2 separate regions of the Homo sapiens genome follow, and region 2 is linked to region 1. Evidence: promoter capture Hi-C in human tissues and cell types (Jung and others, 2019). All regions are on one chromosome and are shown on one strand. Each heading gives the region's core, a stretch centred on a gene start or on the middle of the fragment in contact. The rest is flanking DNA. Distances are from core to core; before and after follow the strand shown.

Region 1 (7,816 bases), core at 2,555-5,054:
CTTTGGGAAGGAATCATGTCACAGGATGAGGAAGGTCTTCTAGGACACTTTTAGTGTCCTATGGAATGAAAATGTTTCAGGGTCTGTAACATATGGCTGTTTTAATAGAGTCAAAAATTTGGTCTATAGAAAAAATATCGTTAAACATGATAGTATATAATGCCTGTAGCACAGCAATGGCTAATGGAAATGGCATTGAGCTGACAAGGGGCTGGCTGCAACTGGGTCATTCATCCAGTGCAAACCTGTAACCTATAAAGAATGATGAGCAAAACTTCCACCTCAATGGAGAACAGTTGTTCCTGCAGCTTGAACATCTCTAGAGTTATAAGTTTACTCATCACTGCCCTCAGACCAGGGCAAGAGCCCATGTTAGAGGATCTTGCTCTGGGCTTCTTCTAGCCATGCCCCATGCTATAGGCCTAGGAACCTATGGGGCTAAAGGGATATGCCTATTGTTTTTTAATCACAGTGATATTTGTTAAACACAAAAGCCTATTTCCAACCTGTGATTTGGAGTCTGGCCAGACAGAACCTGGTGGCAGGATACTAATTGCAGGCATCTGCAATGTCCAGCCTGTGCTGTCAGGGCAGGCACAATAGCTGTTCGCTTCTTGTGGGAGAGCAGAGAGTGCTCCTCCTCTTGAGGCCTCATAAGCTCCCAATCAGGCAGGGCATCCTGCAGCAGCTTCTCTTCTCCTGAAAAAGTGACAGCAGCTGTGGCATCCCCAGTCATGGGTCTGGCATTGGGAAGAGTTCCTTGGAGAAATGGGTAATGGAGAGGGGGAAGGACCCAGCAGCTCGGAATCGGAACCAGCAACTCAATCCCAGCCACATGTATCTATTTTTAACTCTTCAGACTATAGTTAAGTCTAGTAATTGCCCTGGTAAGAGTGGTAGCCATTCCCATTGCCTTTTGGAAAATAGGTGGGAAACATCACAATCAGGTAAGCAGCCCAAGCATAAAGCTCACTGGTGGCAGAGCCAGGAAAAAGTTCATTTCTTATCAAATAGTTCATTCTAAAATTTATGTTAAAACAGCAATTTGAATAACTGTACTTCTATAAGATTTAGCTAATATCTTACTATCTTACTAATATCTTACTGAATCTTAACTATCTTGCTAATACTTACCCTCATTGATATATCAGTTCATTTTTGACAGTGTATTTCACTCACATACCCACATGAATGTGTGTGATGAGCACATGCTCTCAGTCCTGTATGTTAACCAATCTTGTTTTCCCCCCTTTAGTATCAAAAGGTTTTGGAGGGCAGGAACCATTTTGGCCTCATCTTTTGTGAACCATCACAACACAGAACAAAGCCCTTCACAGAGTGGGAGCTCCATAGACAGCAGTGCATGGTTCTAATAGTAATCCTTGTGAAATCTGAAATTCTCAATCCCCAAATTCCTGTAATATGAATACTAGAGACCAAGGAACTTCAGTCCTCTTGCTACAGCTAACAGCAGAAAAATTAAGAACTTGTAAAAAATGGTAAATAACAAAAAGGATAGTAAATTGATCCCCAACCAGCTGCTCTGAGACACAAAACTGCTTATTTTGTATGAGATCAAATATATAAACTGGAAGGCCAACAATTCTTGACAAGAGTGTCATGATACATGTTCATGACACAAGAAGTCGTTCCTGACCACTCATTAGTAATTTTGAAACCAAAGCCAAACAAGCCCATGTCTTTCTATACTCTAAGCCGCCATGCTAAGATTGTATTTTTTTTTAAATGTCTAGTTACAGTTTCTTGTGATAACTGAAGGAGAGAAACTGTAATTTAGGACACAATCTTTCCAACCCCATGATGTTGAAACAGGCCTACTGTGCTGTTAAGGAGAGACACTTTAGAGCTGCGAAGGGAAATGTATTGGTTTCCTGACTTCTAACAGTGAAAATTTAAAGGAAGTCAGATCAGAGAAGCAAAGCGTTCTGTGGGAGCAGGGAGAAATCTGAACCAAAGGAAGACTATTTCTCTTCTCTTTCTCAGAGATAATTCTCTGTTTTATTTTGCTTGTGAAAATTTAGTGAACAGACCTATTACAGATGGAAAATAAATGGATAGAGTTCAAGCCTCCAACCCCAGGGTGTCCATATATGGCCAGGAACATCCCACCAGAAAATGATGGCTAGAGGTAATGATTAAAATAACACCTTATGTTTGGGTATCCTTGATCTAAGTGATACATTTTCACGTATCTTATTTCAGTCCTCATAACAAGCTGTGAACTAGGCCAGTGGTTCTCAGACTTAGATTTCACAGACTAGTATAATAATAACAAACTAGTGTGACCAACATAAGGATACCAACTCCTTATTTTGCCAAACAAGGACATAAAAATAAGAGTTATTGGCTGGGCGTGGTGACTCATGCCTGTAATCCCAGCACTATGGGAGGCCGAGGTGGGAGGATCACTTGAGGTCAGGAGTTCAAGATCAGCCTGGCCAACAGGGTGAAACCCTATCTCTACTAAAAATACAAAAATTAGCTGGGCACGGTGGTGGGGCACCTGTAATCCCAGCTACTTGGGAGGCTGGGGCAGGAGAATTGCTTGAGCCCAGGAGGTGGAGGCTGCAGTGAGCTGAGATCACACCACTGCACTCCAGCCTGGGCAACACAGCGAGACTCTGTCTCAAAAAAAAAAAAAAAGAGTTATTAAATTACTAACTACAACTACAGTCTATTTTCATCATCATTTCATAAAAGGGGATTTTAACACCACAAAACTGGAGAGGACATAACTTCAGAATAAAAGACAAGCCTTTAAATTGAACACACTTAACTTGGTGAAACATTTACTACATTGTTAACTTTATCATTGTCACATTTTGGTCACAGGTTGTGGAAACCTTCATCTTGAGCTAGAACTGACAGATCCCCAGATGGATGTCTGAGAACCAGTGAACTTGGCATTATCAATCCCCATTACCAGACAAAAAGACAGGCTGGGAGGTGAAATGAGTCTCCAAGATGGGGGCTTAGCTAGTGAGGGCAGAGCTAGGCTGTGAGCCCTGGTCTTCTAGATCTAAGCCCATTACAGCATAGCCCTCCTCTGGTTTTGAAGAGGCAGAATAACACATATACATCCATTAATAAGTTATCCAAAGCGTTCAATGGCCACTTACCACTCTGGTTGGTAACCAGGTGGAAAGTGCCTCTTTTCTAGTTTCTAGAACAGCCACTAGCCAGCAGTTCTCATAGATAGACAACAGAACCTGCTCCTAGGAGGAATTTTATGGTCCTTAGCCAGATCCCTTCCTGTGCTCCATTAAATGCTCCAACATGGAAAATGCTGAGCACGAAGCCTCCGCTACCCCCACAGCATTCAGTAATTATGACTATTATTTCTATTGTAGAATTTGAGTGAAAAGGGCACAAAACTTTTTCATAAATATCAAATACTTGGTTTAGGTCCCTGTGGATTCCTGTAGACATGAAAAGAGCTTAAGAAGTCAAATTGTAGTTTGAGTTTGGACATCTCTGTTTCCCCATCCTGCTGATTATTCCAGCATTCCTCTCCCTTCCAAACCTCTGCCAGTTCTTAGGTCAACTTGAAGAGGGTTTTCAGAGTTGGAGTGTAAGTCTAGCCATCCCAGCCCAAGACTGAATCTTATTGGCAACCTTTTTCCTTTTGGAGAAGCCTATATATGGCCCTTAGATTAGGCTGAGAAAGAACAATTGGGGGGAAGGTTACAAACTAATATCACCCAAGGAAAACTTGCCAATACAAGGAGTGTCCCACGGAGAAATATGTGCTCTTTCTCTCTTGGCGCTCAGCAGCAAAATGGCAACTTTCGTCTCTTTCCTTTGCTGCCTAAAAGCCCACCTCCCACTTCTCTACCCCGCCCCTACTGTGCTGCACGACTGAGCAGATATGACTGGATTGGCCCTGATGGGTAGGTTTTACTGTCCAGCAATATTTTAAGCTCCCAGCCAGACAGCTTTTATGAAGGGAGGGATGTTTGGGAAACAATGGGAGTGAGAGAATGGGAGAGCTGTGTTGGGCACTGAGGGGAGGAGGATGGGGAAAGCTGATGTGTGAAAGCTTAGCTGGGGCTTCTGTGCCTCCCAAAGTTTCTTTTAGCAGCAGACTGGGCCTGTACATCAGTAAACCTTTGGCGTCTCTCCAGAGCGCATGAGCCTAGGGGCATTTTCCCAAGGCCTTATCATCAGCTGGGAGAATCTTAATGATGTAGGGACAGTAAGTGGTCAGTTGTGTGAATCCCTCTGCCCTGAGTCACACCAAGAGTGGTTGGTCCTTTCCAAAGGACCATATTTCATTTTTTATTGGTGGTTTGCTCTTGTCTCTCAAAGCCTTCAGCAGAATTGTGGATATTAGAGGCTGGGAAGTGTAGTGGCGGAAGGAAGGATGGGGAGCATGTTGCTAATAGATACAAAAGCACAGCTAGATAGGGGGAATGGGTTCTGGTGGTCTGCAGTGCTGTAGGGTGAATATGGTTAACATTAATTAATTAATTATTTTAATTTTTATATTTTTGTGTGTGTGTGAGACAGAGTCTCGCTCTGCCACCCAGGCTGGAGTGCAATGTCACGATCTTAGCTCACTGCAACCTCTGCCTCTCAGGTTCAAGTTATTCTCCTGCCTCAGCCTCCTGAGTAGCTGGGATAACAGACACCCACAACCACGCCCAGCTAATTTTTTTTTTTCTATTTTTAGTAGAGACGGGGTTTCACCATGTTGGCCAGGCTGGCCTCAGACTCCTGACCTCAGGCGATCTGCCCGCCTTGGCCTCCCCAAATGCTGGGATTACAAGCATGAGCGACCATGCCTGGCCGTTAACTATTTTATTGTATAGTCTCAAAAAGCTAGAGGAGAGGATTTTGATTGTTCCCAACAGAAAGAAATGATAAATGTTTGAGATGCTGAATATGCTAATTATCCTGATTTGATCATTACACATTGTATACATGTATTGAAATATCACTGTGTATCACAAATACGTACAATTATTATGTGTCAACTAAACATAAAAGGAAAGAGCTTTCTAAAAAGATCAAAACAATAAAAAAGAAACACAAACAAACCTTCAGCAGGGTGGTCTCCCTCTTTGAAAGGAGCCTTAACACTCCAAAGAATTCTGGTGCCATTTGTCAAAGTAATAGCCTTTCTCACCACGTTTCACTTATAATTACATATACTTTTGAGTAGCGGAAGTTCAATCAATGTCAGCTAACATTTTTAGACTTTAGTGCCTTCATCTGTTAAATGGGGATATGATGGTTTTGCTCACCAGGAGGCTCTTGGATTAAATTCTAATGTGGCTTAATGAGGAATGATGCTTGGAGGGCATGGACATATGCTCTCTGAGGCCCACTCCCGTCCCATCATCTGGGACTGACTATTGGTAGTATAAAAAATGGTTATTTTGACTACATTTCCAAACCAAAAATAGGGGCATTTTATCCTACAAGTTTATTCGTGAAAACAATGGAGCAAAAATAGTTGAAACTTAGATTGTTTTATGAAATCTGCAATGTATGATTACTAAATTGAAGACAACTTGGAGGGCAAACTAGACAAAAAAAATCTAAGCACTGGCTTCACCACCCCACCCCCCCTTCCTGTCCTTTCTGGTGTCATGGACATATTGCATTTTGATGGGGGCAGTTTGAAGGAGGATGGTACCAATGTTGTGTGAGTCCCCAATTCCATTTTAAATAAAATGGTCACTAGCCCAAAACCTTGTTTACTTTAGATGTCTGATTTCTTTTGAACTCCCAAGTTTGAGGGCCCACACTGACTGGGACAATGCCCTATAGCAAATCCTTCAGTTAAAAATAGATGGTCAAGGCTGATCCCTGCAATATCAATAAGGTAAGAAGTCAGAGGATGAGGGGAAAAAATCCAATCATTCTTTCTTTGGGAATATTCAGTACATGCTGATTCCTGAAGCTTGCGCTCTCCCTGATATAGTCCTATGAAGAGAAAAGAATCTACAAAGCTTCTCTTTAAAATGAAGTTCTCCCTATCCAAGGCTTCCCAGTCCAACTTGGCTAATGTAGTGGGTGGTGTCATCGCTCATCATCATTTTGTGAGAGATGGTAGTAGAGGATGCATTTGAATCCAGAAAAACGGGGCTGTCAACAAGGCTCTGAACCAGTTATAGTCTCTCGGATTTAGACAAATCTAGCTTTTCAATTTAGCACTTTCTTTGTTTTCTTACGCTGTTAACAAAGAAGATACTCCTCTACTCGTAGTACCCAATTGATTAAGTTATCTTTGTTATTGGTTCTTCTGTTTGTAGCTGGGAAGTCCTTGAAAATATAAACACTCAGTCGTGTATATCTTGGGGAAAGTTTTGAAAGAGATCGGGAAAGAGGCTCACCTTAGCTACCATTGAGAGATGACTTGTCTATTCCTACCAAGAATCACTTTCTCAGGTCTTTCAGAGGGATGTCTTCCCAGGGTGTCTGTATTGCATTATTTGAGATAAATAAGTAAATGTCTAGAATAGGAGACATAACCACATTCAAATGTAAGTTCCAATTTTATATTCTGTAATCTTATAGATTATTAGATTATTGACATTTTGGATAATCTAATGGTGGCATTCTCCTACCAGGGTTCGTTTTTCCTTTCTTTCTTTCTTTCTTTCTTTCTTTCTTTCTTTCTTTCTTTCTTTCTTTCTTTCTTTCTCTTTCTTTCTTTCTTTCTTTCTCTTTCTTTCTCTCTCTCTTCCTTTCTTTCTTTCCTTTCTTTCTCTCTCTCTCTTTTTCTTTCTTTTCTATTTTGAGACAAGGTCTTGCTTTGTCACCCAGGCTGGAGTGCAGTGGCCTGATATTGGCACACTGCAACCTCCACCTCTGGGCTCAAGCAATCCTCCCACCTCAGCCCCCCAAGTAGCTGGTACTACAGGCGCAGGCCACCACACCCAGCTAATTTTTGTATTTTTTGTAGAGATGGGGTTTTGCCGTATTGCCCAGGCTGGTCTCGAGCTCCTGAGCTCAAGCAATCTGCCTGCCTCAGCCTCCCAAAGTGCTGGGACTACGGGCATGAGCCACTGCACCTGGCCCAGGGTGCATTTCAAAAGCAATGAGGCAGTTCTTTGTGGAAAGTCTGTGGAATTTGCCATTGGAAGACCTGGCTTTGAGTGTGGCTCTTCTGCTTCCTGTGTGCGGGTGGCTTGTTTAGCCTTTCTGAGCCTCAGTTTTCTCATCTGTGAAATAGAGATAATAATCACTGCCTTTTTTGCTTTGTGAAAACAGATGGTGGCTGCTAATCTAACCTATGTGATGCTGTGAATGCCTGTTCACTTGTTGGTTATATTTGCTATGATCTGAGTGTGGCTATGTCCTGTGCCCCAGGGCCATGGGTTGGTTTGTTTCTAAGTACGTTTTGACCAAGGTTACGCACTCCCCCACTTCCACAGGGAAAATGTCAGAACTGGGAAAGACTGGAGGAGATCATTGGTCCCAGCCCTTATTTTATAGATGAGGAAACCAAGGCTAGAGTTGAAATGACACCCTAAGGTTGTGGCATAGCTCTCAAGCCCATGTGTTTTCCATGGCTCCGGGTGCCTCCAGTTATGGGACACAGACTCAATATGCAGAGAGTCTCTTTAGGGAGAACCAGGTGAGCCCTGGCCTGAGGAGAAGGGCAGAAAGATTTATGGGGCCCAAGAGGACCATCCTCAGTCAATCCCTCTGGTGACTGGAATTGGGAGATGTAGAATCTCTCTTCCAGTTACTGGGAAGTGCCAGGGGGAACGAGTCTCTGAGAAACATAGGACGGGGGGCTGTGGGAGAATCCGGTCACTTCTCTGAGTATTTCAAGCCCAGC
Region 2 (7,816 bases), core at 1,557-4,056, 120 kb after region 1:
AGACACTCCAGACTCTTGGAGCCTATCCCACTGCCCAGGCCTGAGGGTAGAGCCTGGGGTCTGGAGGATGGCACAGGAAGGCATACGGGCAGAATGCAGGGGGCAAACCATTTCCCCTTCCCCTGGCCCGTTCCATCCAGGGTTGTGCAGAAGCTGACCAGACACATTTCCTGCACTTGGCTTGTCCTGCCCCAGACCTATGGCATGACTCTGTGCTAAGCTGTGTCTGGTTGTTGACATGCCAGTGACAAGGCTGAATAATTTCCACTCATAGGAAGAGGCTTCACTGCATGGAGAGCAAGAGTCTAGTTGATAATAACATCACTTGCCTGGCACATTGCAGCTTGGAACACATTTGTTCATCACAATATTTTAATGAATTTGTCACAGTCAGAAAGCCTTTTTACAAAAAGGGGCACCCTTTTTATACATGAGAACATTAAGGCTTGGAGACATTAAGGGACTTGCCCAGAATCACACAGCCACCAAGTGACGCAACTTCCATTGGAGTTGAGTTCAGTGTTTTTTGTGATGTGCTTGTTCTGAAGCCTTCTGCTGCTGTTTGATTATTCCTGTGACTATATCGGTTTGCCCTTGAGGCCGCAGGGCCTCCAGTGGCCCCCTTCTCAATGGTCACCACAGACACTTAAAAGCAGGTGCCCTGAGAGCCCTTGGACTTATAGACTTTCTGCTTATAAGTAGGGGAACTTTTGGATGAAGAGCCACAGCTTAATGAAAGACTCATTGTTTTGTAAGGCTGCAGGTGTGTCCTGGAGAGAAAGATAATAGACTGATAAATCGGAAGAATCATGTCTTAGGGAGAGTCAAGTTATATCTATTCATTCTAATGTTTTTGAAGCCCAAGGGAGCTTCTAACTGGGGGCTTATTCTTAACAGATTCTTGCAGAGACTTTAAGGAAATCTCTTCACCTTTCTTCCCCTTTTTGTTCCTGTCCTCCTCATCCCTCTCTTCACTTCTTTCTCTTCCTTTTCTTTTTCAGCTTAAAGTAGTTACAGTTGTTTTCTGATGCTTGCTGCCAAAGAACGTTTACTGAGTCAGCATCCCTTGAAAATGGCCCCTCAGCCTTGGTTTAAAAATCTCCATAAAACAGCATTCCCTTTTTTTGCTGGTCTCCATTTGGATTTTCTTGAATTCAGGGCTCCCAGGTGAAAGAATGGTCCAAGATTCTGAGGTGGAACACTGGTAGAGTGCCCTGCCATGCTCTGCCTTTGAGCAACTATGCATCCTTCACTTTCCAAGTCAGTAGGAGTAAAGTTACCCAGCCCTGGGCTCTACCTGCAATGCTGAAGAGACTAAAAGCAAGAAACAAGTGGCCAGAGAAATGATTTTACTTAGCACTGGGTGTGATCCAGGACACGCATACTGAGGAACCATCCTGGAAATCCCTGAAAACCGTAGGAGGATTCAGACTCATCCCCTTACTTGGCTCCCTGCTGCCTGCAGAACAAATTAATGTGGTTTACAAAGTTCTTAACAATCTGGCCCCAAACTCAGGATTCTTTGGAAACCAAACTCCCCCATCCTTTTTGGTCCAGCTGTGTAGAATTGAGTTAGGCAGAACTTGACTCTGGACCAGATCAAAGACTGGCTAAAACAGGGAAGAGGCACGGGAAGCACTGCTCCATAAGACATGTCCACCAGTGCCTTAATAGTTTACCATTGCCATGGCGATACCCAGAAGTTACTGCCTCTTTCCATGGCAATGACCCAGAAGTTTCACCCCCTTTCTAAAAATCTCTTAAATAACCTGCCCCTTAATTTGTATGTAATTAAAAGTGAGTGTAAATATGACTGTAGAACTGCCCTGAGCTCCTGCTGTCAGCGCACTGCCTGTGGGGTAGCCCCGTTCTGCAGGAGCCGTCACAGAGCTGTAACACTGCCACCTCCATAAAGCTATTTTCTTCTACCACTGGCTCACTCTTGAATTCTTTCTGGAGCAAAACCAAAAACCTTCCTGAGCTAAGGCCCCAGATTTGGGGCTCACCTCTCCTGCAAAAGAACTACTCTGTAGTCTTCCAAAATGCCATTGCCCATCTGTCCCATGGTGCCTGGGATGTACTTCTCCCACTTCCAGTTCTCTGTCTGAAACTTCTACTTATTTTGCAAGACATATCACAAATGTCGTCTCCTATGCGGAGCCTTTCCTGGCACTTTCATTCCTTTCTCAGTTCCCACAGCATTCTGATCGTAGCTCTATTGTAGCACTTCTCACATAGTCATATAATTTATTTTGTGGTTAAGTGCACAGATGTTGAAACTAGACTGCCTGGATTCAAATCCCAGATCTACCACTGACCAGCTTGGATAAGGTTTCTGTTCTTGATTTTTTACCTATGTTAAATATGGATACTAATTCTTATCTCCAAGAGTTTTGTAAGGGTTAAATGAGCAAACTCTGCTAAGCACTTAGACCACTGCCTGGCATTCTCTGTTAGCTCTCTATTATCTGTTTGCAGCCACCTGTCATGGTCCCTGCCTATTCAGGTCCACTGGAGCATCAACAATCATGTTTAGGCTGCTTGCAGGCCCACAGTTCATAAACCAGACCTGGAGGTAAATGGGAACTCCCTACACCCCCTTGTATGGAGGGTGAATAGATGCAGATGTCCATGGTTCCTAGTTTCTGGTTTCCATTCTATACTCTCCTGCGATCAGAGCTCCACCTCAATCCCTTTTACAGGCCATGTCAGCATGCATTGCCTAGCTCCCTCAATCCAGATAGATTCCTGGAAATCGCAGTATTATCATAGACTTGATGGTCTAAAACAAGGCAGCATTTTTATTCCAACTAGGTCTCCAGCTAGTCTTGTGGGATTCTAAGTTGGTGACATCACTCAGCTCTCAGAGGGGTCAGGGAGCATTGATATTTATAAAACCCCTAGGTTTTGATTTCTTAATTCAGATGCCATGTCTGAATCACTAGTATATCTAGTTCCTAGCACAGTCCCAAACTCAGTGGGTTTTTAAAATCAGTGGATACATGAATAAATGAATAAATAAATGGATCAGCTGTAAGTGGGCCATCCATTAACTTTGACACCCTCTGTGCATTCCCACAGTGTAGTGGTCAGTGTGTTTGACTCCAGCTGGGGTTTCTGTTACTGATGGCTGGTAGCATCCTAATTGAAACACACCTCCAAGTGTTGCTCATTTGTATTTTCCTTATTTGGAATACCCTTAAGTTTTCAATACCGCAGCACCATCTGGAATAAAAAATGGCCTAAGAATATCTCTCATGCTCCCCAGAGTGCTGTATAGGTAAAGAAAGGGAGGAGCTACAAGTGTAAATACAGTTGGGCACTTAAGACAAATTTCAACTTCTTCCAAGCTTTGGCTTGGTATGGAGATAACCAATTACTTAGAATCATAGAGATATTAAAATTTAAAAGTAGAAGGCACAGTTGATGTAGCTTAACCCAAGGGCACTCAATTCTTTAAGTGTTAGAGATAGGACCTGAGACCTGATTCCTGCATTTCCCTGGTCCCTCTCTGCCTCATCAGCTTTTGTCAGTTACACACGTCCTTCCCACCACAGGCAGAGCTGGTACTTCAATCCCAGGGTTGTGTGTGAATTCACAGAAACCAGAGCAGGATTGGAGGCATGAGGCACAGCTGGCTGTTCTGGGGTAACAGGCTTGTGGTGGTGGTGAGCTTTTGCAAAGTTTGGTTTAGCCCTTCAGGATTTGAACCTTTACCCCATTTACCCATAGAAATCTTCTCCCAAGATTCATGAGGGGTTTTCTCCGAACCTGTCAAGATTATTCTTATCTGCCCTAGTGTTTCACCACTCGCTCAGCACACTTCCTTTTGCGTCTTATGTGTATGGTAGAGAAGGGGTTGGTTGAATGGAGGAAGCTAGTATTTTTTGTTTTGTTTTGAATTGTTTTGTTCAGAAATTCTGCTTTTTCCCATGAGCTGTTTGCAAGGCTTTGAAAGGACAGCTCAGAATTACATGGAGTAACTTATTTGGGGCAGAGAAAGAAATGGGTTAACAGCAAGTTGCTTTGTCTTAGAAATTAAAAGGGCACCACTTACATTCAATATGGTGATATTTATATTCACCCAAAATTGAAGTGCTCAATAATAGGGCATTAAATGAATTTTGGTAAATCCAAGAGCAGGAAACTGTGTAACCCAGGTACTTAGCAAAGGGTGGAGGTGATATATATACCCTGACATTAGTCTAAAGAGTACTGCACAGATACTAGTCCTTGATAATTCTAGTGCAGTGGTAACATCCTTATGGAAAGAAAAGATACAAACACATTACATTGCCTTTGGGTGCCATTCTCTTTGACTACACTCCTGATAATCATTAAAAAGGTGAAGAAGATGTATTTCTATTGACATAGAAAACGTCTCTGACACATCGTTAAGTGAAAAAAAGCAGATTACCAAAAAGTGTTCATAATACAATTCCAATTTTTTAAAAACATTTATAAGTACAAAAATGTGGTAGAAAGCTATCAGTATTTTAATAGTACTTATATGTGATTTTATCTCATGTTTAGACTCTTCTATATTACCTACATTTTTACAATAATACGCTATTACTTTTTCTAATTAGGAAAAGACTGGAACAGTTTGAAAAATATAAAGCTTTCTTTCTGTGGTTGGTCTCGGATATTAGTTTATGAAAGGGACAATGCTGAGTGGGTCAGTCCTTGCATTAATAAAGTTAGGTGATCAATAAATATTATTTCCCTTCCCCATGAAGACAGGGAGACAGGAAGACGCCATCCTCATTGCAGGGATGGAGTGGAGACGCTTGAATCTGAAACTCTTCAGAGGGAGATATATTCCTGGAGTCCCCAGCCAGAACTTGGCATCATTCTCTCCCATCCAGAGACCATGTTAACTAGGTTGTTAGCTTCTCTAGTACTCTCAACACTGTAGTTGAGCAACATTATGCCTGAAATAAGCTTTTATGGGCTAGCCTGGGAAGCTAACTACTCTTTATAACATTATTTCTATGGGAAAACATGCTCCAAATTCCACACCACCAATTTACATTGAAGCTTTTAGGATGCAACTATTTTCAGTTTGGAGACCTGCTTACTTGCCCCCTCCCCTTTATTCACTAATTATTTGAAAAATCTCTATTATTTTGTAGTAGATTACAAACTGGTGAACAAGTCTTTTGGCTTATGCTTTATTTGTTAACCCAGCACACAGTCAAAGGGGTTTCAAGATCGGAGGGGTCTTAGAAATTGGCACCTAGTTACTGAATATTACTGCTCATTGATTGTCAAGCTGGCTGGAGTTGTCCAGGGATGGGGCAGTTATGCCAGGGTTCATGTCTCCCCCAGCACTCCTCCAGTCTCACTTCCCTTGTCCACACTGTTGGGAAAGGCATTAAGGAAATAATTCATTTCAGGGGCATGCACTCATTTACCTACCACATTTACAAACGTATTGCATTCAGGGACAGTTCCTGTAATCCTATAGCTCCTGTAGTATTTGGGACCATTTCAGGACCATCTAGAAATGGTGCTTAATAAATCCTTAAAAACCTTCTGAGGTGGCAGAAAGAATACTGGACTAGGCATGATGAGAGGTGCCAGTCTTGGCTAGCTGTTTGAGTTTGGGAAAGTTACGAAAGGAAGGAATAAGCATGCTTATCTCAGAAAACCTTTTTATATTTGACAGGTGAAGACTCTGAACTGAGAAGTGGCCTTATGCCTATGGAACAGATTTCAACCTGTTCAATAAGAGGCTTCTAGGTTGGGGAAGGGATAGAACATATTGGCATTTTGGTGGTTGTTTCAATTACTTTGGAGGTTGATGTGAAATAATCTTTTTTGACCTCCTATACCTAGAACAGTGACTTTTAATCTTTTTTGGGTCAAGAGTGCTTTATGAATAGATCAAGACTGTGGTCCCTCTTCCCCTAAAGCTTTGAAATGAACACAGGGGTTTCTATGCTCCATGAAGCCCACCAAAAATCTTCTAGGGGTCCAGGCAGGTAATACTGATAATCTTTGGACTAAATTTCAAATCATTAAGCTCAACAGATCCTCGTGATTTTACCAAAGATGTTTAAAAACAGCTCAAGTAGAAGTTTTGCATCTCTTCTCAGAAAACTTTAGGGTCTAGAATCATGTGTAGCTCTTGGATACAAGCTGTTCCAGGATCTAGAGAGGTCAAGAAACCATGCCTTTTCTCTAGATTTTAGTAATTTAAGCTCCAGGGACTTTCAGCTAAGTGCTCTAACAGCATCATAGGAATATCTATGATCAATAACTGGCCCATTCTACCCTCAGGGAAGTCCCCAGGTTTCCTGATTCTTTGGGAGATCTGGCTTCTGCTCCTGACCTTAGATAAATTGCTTGCCTTCTCTGGGCTTCAATGTTCTCATCTGGCCCACTTGATCTTCAGTTTCTCTTCAAGCTCCAGTGTTCTGGTATCTGTGATTCCTTGATATCTGTATGACACTGAGACAGTCCTCTAAGGAGTGATGAATTTCACAATTCCCAGCTTTGGTCTGCTCCTGTCACTGAGGAAATTCCTGTTCAAAAGGCAATTTCTACAGCACCTGTCTCAGAAGCATTTGGCTTCCTCGAGGCGTTCAGGAGACCCACAGGAAACAGATATTTTGTTGTTTTTCTTTTTGCTCTAGGAAAAAAACTCATTAAGAGCCATCTCAGACAGCAGATGTCTGTTAGGTGCACGTACATATCCAAATGAAACTTTCACCCAGAGGACCAGAAAAGGCAAGGCCAGCATCAGAGATTTAGCTGTGTCCTAAGAAACAGAAATCTCTACTCTTAGGCATCCTCCCACTTCCATGACTCACCTCCTCTCATTCCAGAAAGTCATGCACAGGAATTAATTTATAGGTACTGTCCAGAGGTCTTTAAGTAAACAGTGCTACCGGTCCTTTCAGCTACCCAGACAAGCTTGACTTCAGGCCCCAAAGAGGAAGCTAATGACTTGTAGTTACTTTGCTATTGTTTTCCGAAAACAATCTGACTTCCTTTTTGATAGCCTTGGAATTCCTTCTTTACAAATGAAGGCGCTGGAGCCAGGGAAGGGCTGAGCTGGCCAGCTCAGGAGCATAATGCTCTCAGGACAAGATCTCCTTTATAAACAAGCTGCAGAGGCTCCTTAAAGGATGGTGGGCAGACCCTGTTTGTGAATGGAGGGACTTCTGTGCTGTCTCTGCCTCCTTCCTAAGATCTCACCTCTATCCCAGAGCATATGACAATAACTAAGGTGTTTGGTGTCCAAAGAACAAATTTGTGAAGACCATCTTATTATGACCATTCTTAATTCTTATTATGACAACAAAGTTGAGGCTTATTGACTTGCCTGAGATCACAAAACAACAAATGGACAAGGTTAAAATTCCATCTCAGATCTCCTGACTCCAAGTTCACCTCTCTCAAAGAGGCTATGAAGATGCAAAGAGAAGGCATCTGTCTAAAGCTGGCGGGCTTTGGTCTATCCCCCGAGAAGGGAATTTGGTCTATCCCCTGAGAAGGGAATCTTCATGTTAGGTAAGAATCTACATTTCAAATTTACTGTATGAGTGATAAATCCCTGTCCTTTCTTCTGGTCTGGGCTGGTATTAGGGGAGCTATTTTTGCACCTTCCTTCTACCAGAGGTGCCTCTGCTAGAGGTTCTTAGTAGAGTCCCTTCCTGCCACAACAAAAGATCCCCACTGGATTTCTCTGAAGAAACTGTACCCCATTGACTTTTTCTTGACTTTTAAAAATGGTGTTTATGAGAACTTTTTTTTAAGAGAGTTAGACTTGTCTCATTTTTGCTTCTGTGAATCCCCACACTACCCC

What was found. The method cuts DNA at HindIII sites, captures the fragments that hold promoters and counts their contacts. A contact is called where the count stands out against the background at its distance.
Region 2: a contact is called between a fragment that was not itself captured here and the fragment with the promoter of GJA8 in region 1, in 2 of the 25 tissues and cell types used here (IMR-90 fibroblasts and aorta).

Annotation. Positions count from the first base shown.
Region 1 is chr1:147,898,783-147,906,598 of GRCh38, reverse strand. GJA8 (gap junction protein alpha 8) reads right to left here and starts at 3,804. Exons shown (of 2, transcript NM_005267.5): 1 at 3,738-3,804. The HindIII fragment of the contact is 8,467 bases long and covers 1-4,995 here.
Region 2 is chr1:147,780,372-147,788,187 of GRCh38, reverse strand. All of the region lies in intron 2 of LOC102723321 (a long non-coding RNA gene), which reads right to left. Among named protein-coding and RNA genes, the nearest start is that of GJA5, 24 kb to the right of the region's middle. The HindIII fragment of the contact is 7,229 bases long and covers 1-6,420 here.